Linked DNA regions of Homo sapiens: region 1 is linked to region 2. The links are contacts of gene promoters, found by promoter capture Hi-C in blood cells and fetal thymus (Javierre and others, 2016). All regions are on one chromosome and are shown on one strand. The core of a region is centred on a gene start or on the middle of the fragment in contact, and the rest is flanking DNA. Distances in the headings are between cores, read along the strand shown. Region 1 holds the start of CLYBL (citramalyl-CoA lyase). Region 2 holds the start of DNAJC3 (DnaJ heat shock protein family (Hsp40) member C3).

Region 1 (5,193 bases), core at 311-2,810, 3.9 Mb after region 2:
GATAAGTAATATTGGCCTGGCATGGTGGCTCATGCCTGTAAGCCCAGCACTTTGGGAGGCTGACGCGGATGGATCACTTGAGGCCACGAGTTCGAGACCAGCCTAGCCAACATGGTGAAACCCTATCTCTACTAAAAATACAAAACAATTAGTTGGAAGTGGTGGCACTTGCCTGTAGTCCCAGCTACTCAGGAGGCTGAGGGGTGAGAATCACTCAAGCCTAGGAGGTGGAGGTTACAGTGTGTGAGCTGAGATCGTGCCACTGCACTACAGCCTGGGCGACAGAGCAAGACTGTCTCAAAAAAAAAAAAAAAGTAATATTCTAAACTAAAAACCAAGATAATGGAAAAATCCCATTATGAACAAAATATCAAAATTTTAATTAAAGACAGGATTGGTGTTACTGAAATTGCCTTTGCCTCAGGCTTCAGTATGGCTGGACCGGGCACTGGCTGGGACTAAGGTGGTGACAAGAAAGTGACCAAATTGGAGTAGACAGGCGAGGCCTGAGGTGGAGCAGGCGTGGGAGCTGGGGGAGGGCACCAAGGGGTTGAGCAGTCTCCCCTGTTGGTATCGAATATAACAATAATTCTTAGGCTCAGCAGAAGTTTAGCATCCATGTTCCCAGTCACCTGGACTTTTCCAAATCTTGGAACCCCCTCTGGCTGAAAAGGCTTTTGTTTGTTTAAACGGCCACTTTTTGCATCCAAGAGCACAAGTCAGCTTCCACTGGAAGGTTCTGAGAAACGGTTTCAGGTTTAAGTCTAGAGCATGAATGGAACGGAGTCACAGCTGAAAAAGAAACATGCCGAGTGCCAAGGAAAAGACATGGTTAAGGGGTAACATGGGCCCGGGTAGGTGAAGGTCGGCAGGTGGAGGCCGGCTGGATCAGGGAAGGTGAAAGAAGAGGCAGGGGCAGGGCCCAGCCTGTTTTAACGCCTCGGCGTTCTCACCGCTGCAGAACGGCTGCAGGGGGCAGAGTAAAGAGCTGCTGTCAGTTTCCCTGCCCAGAGAGTGCCAACAGCTGCTCTGACCTATTGCAGGCATGTGTGTTCCAGGATGCAGCCTTCCTGCACTTTGACCACTCTAGATTAATTGCTAACCAAGATATGCACATGATGGGGCTCACAAAGTATTAGGCGGTATTTTAACAACAAAAGCTGCGAAGAAATCCCTAGAAATGTTGGCTCTTCTGGCTGGGAAAACGCAGTCTGTCAACAGTTGCCTCAAAAACTCAGAAGCTCAGAGAGTTGGATTCGGTCACCAGAGAGGCCCCTCAAAGAGGCCCCAACCATTCAGATCCTCTGCTCTGTCCCCCATGACAGCGGGGACGAAGGTCCTAAGCCCTGGCCGGGAGGGCAGTTGACCTCGGGACTCGCCGCGGGGCGGAGCGGGTGCTGGGAGGAAGGAGGGCGTGGCTGGCGGGGTGTGGCTGGCGGGACGGGGCGGGGCGAAGACAGAGCGAGGCGGGGCCTGGGACGGGGGGGGGGTCGGTGTCGCCGTGGGGGCGTGGAATGTGGGGTGGGCGTGGCTAAAGGCAAAGGGCGGGGCGCGCGCGTCGGGAAGATGGCGCTACGTCTGCTGCGGAGGGCGGCGCGCGGAGCTGCGGCGGCGGCGCTGCTGAGGCTGTGAGTGCAGGTCCCCGTTCCCCGCCTTCCCGGCCCGGCTCGCCGCGGGTCGGCTCCTGTTGCAGCCCCGCGGGCCGGGCGCGGCCTCCCCAAGCCCTCACGGGAACCCAGCCGGACGGAAGCACCATGCGCCTCCCACGCGCTGGCTCGACCTCGTCCAAGGTCGCTGCCGCCCGCGCCTCCCTTTGGGAGGGCCCTCGTTGCACCCGGAAAATGGGTACACACCTTAGGTCGAATTACCTGGACTCAGCCCCAGGAAACAAAACTGCCTGCCTCCCCCAAATGGCAAACGTGAACGCGCCAGTCTTTGAGAGGCGGCTTGCCTGGTGAAGAACACCTGCGGTTCGTTTAACACAGCGGTTCCCAAACGGTTTGGTCTCAGGACCCGTTTACACGTCTAAAAATAATTTGAGGACCCCCCAAAGCTTTTGCTTATATCTATTGATTTTTGTGCATGAGGAATTAAACCAGAAATTTAAAAAATATTCACTTAATAACAAACCCATTAACTTTTAATACAAATAACACTTTAATGCATAACTTCTCAAAAAAAAAGTGAGAAGATTGGCTCATGGTTTTTATATTTTTGAAAATTTCTTTGGTTTAATAAAGGACAGCTGGAGTCTCATATCAGCTGTTTTGAAGGAAATATTTGAAAGAAATTCTGGGCTCATGCAGATGCAGATATTAGTTGGGAAAGGGAGGACCAAGCAGACCCTCTCAACGGGTCTCAGGGACCCCCTCAGGTGTCTTTGGACCACACTTTGAGAACCGCTGGTCTAGCACTTGCCCATCGCCTAGGTACGTGCACATACATGGTCTCATTTGGTTCCCTTGACCACCATGTGAAGAAGTTGGGTGTCATGTTTATAAAGATGAAAAAACAGGGTCAGAAAGGTTAAGGATTCTCAAAGCCCTATGACCAGTAATGAGAGAGTTTGGTTCAAACACTAAGTGTATGGCTCCTGGTCTGGAACTTCTTTATTTATTTATTTTTATTTTTTGAGACAGAGTCTCGGTCTGTCACCTAGGCTGTAGTACAGTGGTGTAATCTCGGCTTACTGCAACCTCCACCTCCTGGGTTCAAGCGATTCTCATGCCTCAGCCTCCTGAGTGGCTGGCATTACAGGTGTGCACCACCACCCCTGGCTAATTTTTGTATTTTTAGTAGAGACAGAGTTTCGCCATGTTGGCCAGGCTGTTCTCGAACTCCTGACCTCAAGGGGGTCCACCCGGATCAGCCTCCCAAAGTGCTGGGATTACAGGCGTGAGCCACCATGGCCGGCCTGGTGGTCTGGAACTTCTTTTTTTTTTTTTTTTTTTTTTTTTCCGAGATGGAGTTTCGCTTTTGTCGCCCAGGCTGGAGTGCAATGGCGCCATCTCAGCTGACTGCAACCTCCGCCTCCCGGATTCAAGTGATTCTCCTGCCGCAGCCTCCGGAGTAGTTGGGATTACAGGGCGTCCGCCACCATGCCCGGCTAATTTTTGTATTTTTAATAGAGACGAGGTTTCACCATGTTGGCCAGGCTGGTCTGGAGCTCCTGACCTCGGGTGATCCACCTGCCTCGGCCTCCCAAAGTGTTGGGATTAAAGGCGTGAGCCACCGTGCCCGGCCTGGGTCTGAACTTCTTACGTCTTCTTGCACTGTGACTCTTCAGTCACCCATGTCCTATGGGAGGACCCACCTAGTCTTATGCATCCCACTTTCCCATTTCCTCCGCTGCCCCTGGCACAGGGGAGTCACCCCTCGCCCTAGAGGAGCAGCTCAGGCAGTGTATCCAGGCTGGTCCAGAAGGGTCCTTTTCTGGCGCCTTTTGAGGGGGCCAGCGTCTGTGACCTGTTCAGTAGCGGGTCCAGTGAGCGCACACAGTCCCCACGCCAGTACGCTGGGGGTTAACTCAGTGCTCCTCACCCGCCTTAGCACACTGGTCTGTTCTCGACATGTCTACCCGCTGAATATAGGATTCTTGATTGGCATTTTTTTTCCTTTGAGCATTTTAAAGCGTATTATCGCACTGTCTTTTTGCCTCCATTATTCTAATGAGAATTCAGACGTTAATGTTATTAGGGTTCTATGTAAGTGATGAGTCTTTTTTTTTTTTTTTTTTTTTTTTTTTTTGCTTGATTTTCTCTTTGTCTTGGTCTTTCGGTGGTTTTATTATGATGTGTGTAGATCTGTTTGAGTTTATCCTCTTGGAAGTTTATTGAGTTTCTTGGATGTGTATACATCAAATTTGGGAAGTTTTTGGCTATTGTTCTCTCAAAAAAGTCTACTCTCTTATCTCTCTCTTCTCTTTCGGAGGCTCCCATTGCGTATATGTTGGTGTAGTTGATGGAACCCCACAGGTCTTTGAGACTGTTCCATTTTCTTTCTGTTCCTCAGGCTGGACAATGTCAATTGACCTGTCTTTGTTTTTTTTTTTTTTTTTTTTTTTTTTGAGACAGAGTCTTGCTCTGTCACCAGGCTGGAGTTCAGTGGCGCAATTTCTGCCCACTGCAACCTCTGACTCCCGGGTTCAAGCGATTCTCCTGCTCCAGCTTCCCGAGTAGTTGGGATTACAGGCACGCGCCACCACGTCCAGCTAATTTTTGTATTTTTAGTAGAGACGGGGTTTCACCATGTTGGCCAGGATGGTCTCGATCTTCTGACCTCGTGATCCACCTGCCTTGGCCTCCCAAAGTGCTGGGATTACAGGTGTGAGCCACCGTGCCCAGCCGACCTGTTTTTAGGTTTGCTGATTGCTCCGTCTTCCAACTCAAATCATTTTCATTTTAATCCAGAACTTCTTTCTTTTTGGAGAATGAGTCTCACTCTGTCACCCAGGCTGGAGTGCAGTGGTGCAATCTGGGCTCACTACAACCTCTGCCTCCTGGGCTCAAGCTGTCCTCCCACCTCAGCCTCCCAAATAGCTGGGACTACAGGTGTGCACCACTGCACCTGGCTAATTGTTTCTATTCTTTTGTAGAAATCAGGTTTCGCCATGTTGCTCAGGCTGGTCTCGAACTTGGCTCAAGCAATCTGCCTGCCTCTGTCGCTCATAGTATTGGGATTACAGGCATGAGCCATCATGCCCGGCCCTTTTCTATACTTTCTATCTCTTCATTGATATTCTCTATGTACTGAAACATCGTTCTCATACTTTCCTTTAGTTCTTTTTTTCTTTCTTTCTCTTAGAGACGGAGTCTCCAGGCTGGAGTGCAGTGGTGAGATCGTAGCTCACTGCAGCCTGCAGCTCCTGGGCTCAAGTGATCCTCCTGCCTCAGCCTCCCCAGTAGCTGGGACTACAGGCACACACCACTATGCCCAGCTAATTTTTAAATTTTTTGAAGAGACAGAGTCTTGCAGTGTTGCCAAGGGTGGTCTTGAACTGCTGGGTTCAAATGATTTTCTTGCCTTGGCCTCCAAAGCAGTGGAATTCTAGGCATGAACGACTGCACCTGGACTCCTTCAGTTCTTTATGCATAGTTTCCTTTCGTTTTTTGAACATACTTTAAATAGATGATTTAATTAGTAAGTCCAACATCTGGACTTCCTCAGGGACAGTTTGTACTGACTACTTTTTTC
Region 2 (5,620 bases), core at 2,659-5,158:
ATCTTGCATAACCATGGTACATTTGTCAAAACTAAGAAAGTAATAATGGTACACTACTATTAAACTTGAGACTATTCATATTTCAGTAGTTTTTCCACTAATGTCTATTTTCTCTAGGATCCAGTTCAACACAGCACACTGCATTCAGTCATCAATTAAGTTTCCTTAGTTTCCTCTGGTCTGTTACAGTATTTCAATCTTTCCTTGTTCCCCACGACGTTGATAGTTTTGAGGAATACTGATCAGGTGTTTTATAGAATGTCCTTCAATTTTAGTTTGATTTTTTTTTTTTCATGTTTAGACTAGATTGGGTTATAGGTTTTGAGAATACCACAGAGGTGAATTGCCCTTCTCATCACAGTATATTGGGAGTATATGCTATCAACATGACTTGATGATATTAACTTTGACCACCTGGCCAAGACAGTGTTTCCAGGTTTCTGTACTATGAAGTTACTCTCCTCCTCCCTTTCCATACTCTGTTCTTTGGAAGTTAGTCACTAAGTCCAGCCCACACTCAAGGAAGGAGGGAAAATAAGCTCCACCTGATGAAGGGGGACGTATTGTGTTAAGCTGAATAACGGTCCCCCAAATATGTTTACATTCTAATCTCCTGTCATTGTTCTATAGCAAAAGGCAGTTTTTGCAGATGTGATTAAATTGAGGAACTTGAGTAGGAAGAATATCCTGGATTATCTCAGCAGGCCCAATATAATTAATTACAAGGATCCTTGTAAGACGGAGGCAAGGTCAAAAATGACAGAAGGTGATGTGAATACAAAAGCGGAGATTATAGTCATGCGGCCAGAAGCCAAAAAACAACATAAAAGAGGGTGGAAAGCAGAGAAGACAAGATGTGATATAAAAGCCAAATTTTATATGAAGGTACCAAAATTTGATCAGAATCCCAAAATCCTTGAAAATAAACTGTAAATTTGACATATAAGGGTCATTTTTTGTTCCTCAGATTGGCAAAAACTGAAAATCAATTATATCTAGTGATGGTGACTAGGCAGGAATATAAACAGCTGATAGGAATAGAAATTATTCCTTTAGGGAAAGATAATCTGACAACGCATCTTAAAAGTTTAAACAAATTCTTTGATTAAGCAAGTTCAAAAACCTAGTTTTTTTTTTTTTTTTTTTTATAAAGTGTCACTCTGTTGCTCAGTCTGGAGTGCAGTGACATGATCTTAGCTCACTGCAACCTCAAACTCCTGGGTTGAAGCAATCCTCTGCCTCAGTCTCCCTGAGTAGCTAGGGCAACAGGCACGAGCCACCGCACCTGGCTAGTTTTAAATTTTTTTGCAGAGACAGGATCCTGCTATGTTGCTCAGGCTGGTCGCAAACTCCCGGCCTCAAATAATCCTCCCATCTTGGCTTCCCAAAGCGCTAGCATTACAGGTGTGAGCCACTGCGCCCAGCCTAGAAATGTTTCCTAGAAATAAAAGCACAAGTTTGTAAACATAAATGTGGAAGGATGTATATGGTGGCATTAACTTAATGCTGACTTTTTTGTTCTTAATTTGGCACAAAAAGGTGTTTATAAGTGCTCTACTTGTTTCTGAACATTTATTTCTCCTCATAGTTAATTCCTAAACAAATCTTATTCCCTTTACCTACAAAATATGTTCTAGATCTGTTCACTCCTCTCTACCAACATTGTTTTTCCTAGTCAATAAACATAGATCAACCTAATAAAAATTGCATAATACTCTTAATTTTGGATATATCATAAATATGCTACCATTGTTTTTTAAGTCTTTTGCTACTATAATTAACAGTATGAATTACAGTGGAGATTTAATGTTTAACTTCAAAAAGACTCCATAGAGTCTGACGAATGCAAACATATTTACAGTAACTTTTCTTACACTCACTAGATTACTTTGATTTTCGGTTTTATTGGCAAGAGTGATTCGTGAAAACCATGACTAGATGAACATTGGAGGAAACATTCCCAAGCATTAATCACTTAATTTTAGTTTTGTACATTTTTTTCTGTCTAATGTTACCTTTGTTGTAAAATTATCTTTTTTTAAGGAATGCTTTGTAAAGCTTAGTTCTAATATTACAGAATTCATAGTTATGTAATTAATCTCAAAATCACTCACCATTGAAGACCCTTGCTATTTTTATTTCCTATAACACGAAGTCTATTATCTCCTTAATAATTTTTAATTTCCATCCTTAGAACTTCTTCAGCTCTGCTACTTTTTCCTTAAGGCCAGGGTCATAGGCAGCACACTGGTGATAACTCACTGTCTAGAAATATTGCATTTTGTTTACAAAGTTATTTTCTATGTTCAGCATTTTGCTGGCTGCCTTGGGTACAGTACCTCAATTGAATGTCTACACCTGCATATTTGTGGACATTGAAATCATCTACCATTTTTCAGAGACACTACCTTGTGATATAAAAAAACAGAAGCCAAAAAAAAAAAAATCCCAAGGAATTTCTGAAGGAGCCTCTCTTCACTACTCTGCTCTTGTTAGAATAATGAGTAACACTGGTATAACATTCTACAATTTACAAGAATATTTATCTGCTTCATGAAACCTCAAAACAAACCTTTGAGACTATCAGGATCCTAACCACTTTACAGATGAAGATAACTTACATAATAGTTATGGGGTTTCCTGGATCTGACTCCTTTATTCTTCACATTACATTATGTTGCCTTCCCCACAACTAATCAAGGACTCCGTTTTTTCTTTTTTCTTTCTCGAAACCATTTCCTCCATATTAGTTCCCTTTGGAATAGAAGCCTTTTTAAAAGTCCACCTTAGTATATCTTCAGGGAATCACAAATTCACTATGCTATTTATAATTCATGAGTTTCTCTAATGGTATCAAGGCAGCAAATACAGGTGAAGTAATAATTATCCACCTGATAGTACTTAACACACATACCCCGTGTAAAAATACTGCTGGTGTACAGTGTGTGTGTTGGTGACGCCGGAGGAAGTGGCCGTGAACAGGCTTAATGCCGCATTGAGTAACTTCAACCTCATCTTGCTCAGGTTCATATCTCTCCTGAATTTCCCCTGGTAAGCGCAAGATTCAGGATCCGTTCTCACAGTTTTTTGTTTACCAGTTGATGTTGGCTGCATTCAGGAACGCCTTGCTCTCTTAAGCCACAGTGCCTTCCTGGTCTCTTCTTCACAGGGTCTTCCACAATCGCTCTTTTTCCTGGGCACGGTGGTTTGCTGAAAGTCGGGGTGGGGGGCGGGGCGTTCCCAAGTTTCCAGGCCAATTACCTACCTGCCTTAGAGCAATTACGCACTTCTCTCTGGTAGTCCCTGAAATGTTCTAATCATCAGATCGCCCCAGCTTCTCCTGACCGTTTCTTGCTTACGGCTCAGTTCAGACAGTATTTGTTCCGGGACGCTCAGCGGGAGGCGGTTTTTACCGGCTCACTCGAGACCCCAATTCCAGGCGCCCTGCAGCTTCCCTCAGACTCCCCGGGACCGTGTTTGGCCTTCCCATTCGTACGCTGCGGCTGCGCTTTCCTCTCGTAACACCACGCTGGCGAACCTGGAAAGGATCAAATAGTCCCACTCGCCAACCTAGCGCGGCGGGACCGGCCCAAAAGGGCCTTTGCAGCCTGCGCATGCGGACTCGGCGGCCGCCACCGACTCCCCGTCTGCTTCCCTCCGGGCGGCAGCCGCGGTTTGGAGCTTGCTGACAGCTCTGCGACCGGCGGGCGCAGCCTCGTCTCGTGCTTCCACGTTATCCTATCAGGGACGGGGCGGGGCGGCGGCCTCCGCAGCCTATCAGCGCGAACCACGACCCCGGCGAGCCCGGGAGGAAAGCCGCCAGAAAGAAGGCGATTGGATGGCGGCGGCGCTCTGGGGCGTAGCGTCGCCCGGGCCCCGCCCACCGCTGCCTTCCTCTGCTGGGCTCCAGAGCCACTGAGGCCTGAGCGAGAGCCGACGGCGGGCGGGCGCAGCTGCTGCCGGAGCGCCGGCGCGTGCTGGTGGGCCACACACCTTTCCTCCTCTTCACTCGCGAGCCCTCGGACATGGTGGCCCCCGGCTCCGTGACCAGCCGGCTGGGCTCGGTATTCCCCTTCCTGCTAGTCCTGGTGGATCTGCAGTACGAAGGTGAGTCCTGCCCTGCCCCGGCCAGGAAGTGGGCTCCCGGACCAGGCCCCCCGCGCTTTCCCGTCTGCGCCCGGGCGCCTGTCCCGGAGCGGCTCGGGAGGTGGGGCGAGCGCTGGGGGAGCCCGCGGCCTGGCTTGGGCCTGAGCCCGCGCCCGGTTCCGGGTTTGTCTGGGGAAGAATCGAGGGGACTGGCGGGCCGCGGGGCCGGGACAGCGGGTTTGGACTAAGGAACCGGGCCGCAGGAGTCGGAGGAGGCGGGGTGCGGGGGCACCGGGCTACGACTTCAGGAAGTCCTGGGACGCGGAGACTTGGGCAGCCTTTGGGTCCTGGCCTCGCTTGGGACCCTCGCTGGGCGCCTGGGGACACTGTCAGTCATTGGTGCTGGCTGGGAGGAGGCACTAAGGTGGCCAAAAGACTTCCTTCGCTCTGGAGTTCTTGGGTGGGGAAGGAGTGTCATGTCCGGCTGGGAGTTGGAGGGGACAGTGTTGACTATTTAAAAAGTGTGTAACCATCCCCATTAAGATGCACTGTCGTGTAGAGAAATTGTTAGTTTGGTGCAATGAGGAGCCGCTGTTGGAATTCCATCTCCCGGACGGCCAGGCACTGAGTTTGTGGTTTTACAACTCCCAACATGGTGTCATTCAACGTATGGCTGGCATTACTTTTCCAAGTTCGCTGTAAAAAGGTTCCCTTAAAAAGATACGAACGATTAAATTTCACTTCAGTCCTGCAGACTGGAATGTTGGCTACTCCAGAATAGCGAAAATAGAGGGCTGTCCTATCTTAGATGGCAGCGGGGAGGAGTAAGAATTAAAGTTGATAGTGCCGATTTAACGAATGCTTCTGGCGCGGTTACTGTGCGAAATATTCGAGTGTAATGACACATCACATGCACTGATCTATTTTCATCCCCATAAAAAGGGCTAGTTGTCAAGGAGGTCAAATTAAACCTTTGAGTATTCCATTCAAAGGGAGCGAGGAACTAAAAATTGGGAATTGTTTATAGTGAATTCTTCTGAAAGTTCTCAACTTTTTTTTTTAAAGTAGTACTCCCCAGTTTTTAGGTGTCACCCATAGCAATGGGCTTTTGCTTTTGCTTCCCCTGGTAACCATATTTTTTGAACCCCAAATCAGAACACGTAGTGTGGCAACATTGGGACAAAGAATTTGACAGTGAGGCTGCCCCCAGAAAAATCTAGGGGATTGGAATTTGAAGGTCTGTACCACTTTAATATGGGTCATATATTCTAGTTCTTTTGCATTTTCAAAAGCTTCATTCCTCCTGCCCCCGCACCCCACCATCCCTCATCTGTAGTATTTATCTCCAGTTATCATTAATAATTTATTTTGGACACTTAAGAGAAAGTTGCCTATGTTCTGTTTAATGGTGATTTTTTTTTTTAAGTTACAGAGATGCACAATTTTGAATGATTGCTTTTCCCACTACTTTTTAGAATTGCTGTTCTGTATATGAGTCTGTAAGGACTCTTAACTCTTCATTTCCCTCCTGTGG

Evidence for each region. The method cuts DNA at HindIII sites, captures the fragments that hold promoters and counts their contacts. A CHiCAGO score of 5 or more calls a contact.
Region 1: the fragment with the promoter of CLYBL here is called in contact with the fragment with the promoter of DNAJC3 in region 2 in 1 of 17 cell types (neutrophils); the score reaches 6.8 in neutrophils.

The regions. Positions count from the first base shown.
Region 1 is chr13:99,605,130-99,610,322 of GRCh38, forward strand. It overlaps CLYBL (citramalyl-CoA lyase), which reads left to right and starts at 1,561. Exons shown (of 9, transcript NM_206808.5): 1 at 1,561-1,628. The coding sequence starts at 1,567. LOC105370332 (a long non-coding RNA gene) reads right to left here and starts at 720. Exons shown (of 3, transcript XR_931674.3): 1 at 633-720. RefSeq lists enhancers at 424-1,403, 1,326-1,620 and a silencer at 1,342-1,901. The HindIII fragment of the contact is 13,725 bases long and covers 1-2,051 here.
Region 2 is chr13:95,673,231-95,678,850 of GRCh38, forward strand. It overlaps DNAJC3 (DnaJ heat shock protein family (Hsp40) member C3), which reads left to right and starts at 3,909. Exons shown (of 12, transcript NM_006260.5): 1 at 3,909-4,107. The coding sequence starts at 4,026. It overlaps DNAJC3-DT (DNAJC3 divergent transcript), which reads right to left and starts at 3,695. Exons shown (of 2, transcript NR_132117.1): 1 at 2,622-3,695; 2 at 1-1,438. RefSeq lists enhancers at 2,999-3,846, 3,110-3,209, 3,847-4,693, 4,040-4,089 and silencers at 3,730-3,969, 4,200-4,289. The HindIII fragment of the contact is 3,320 bases long and covers 2,057-5,376 here.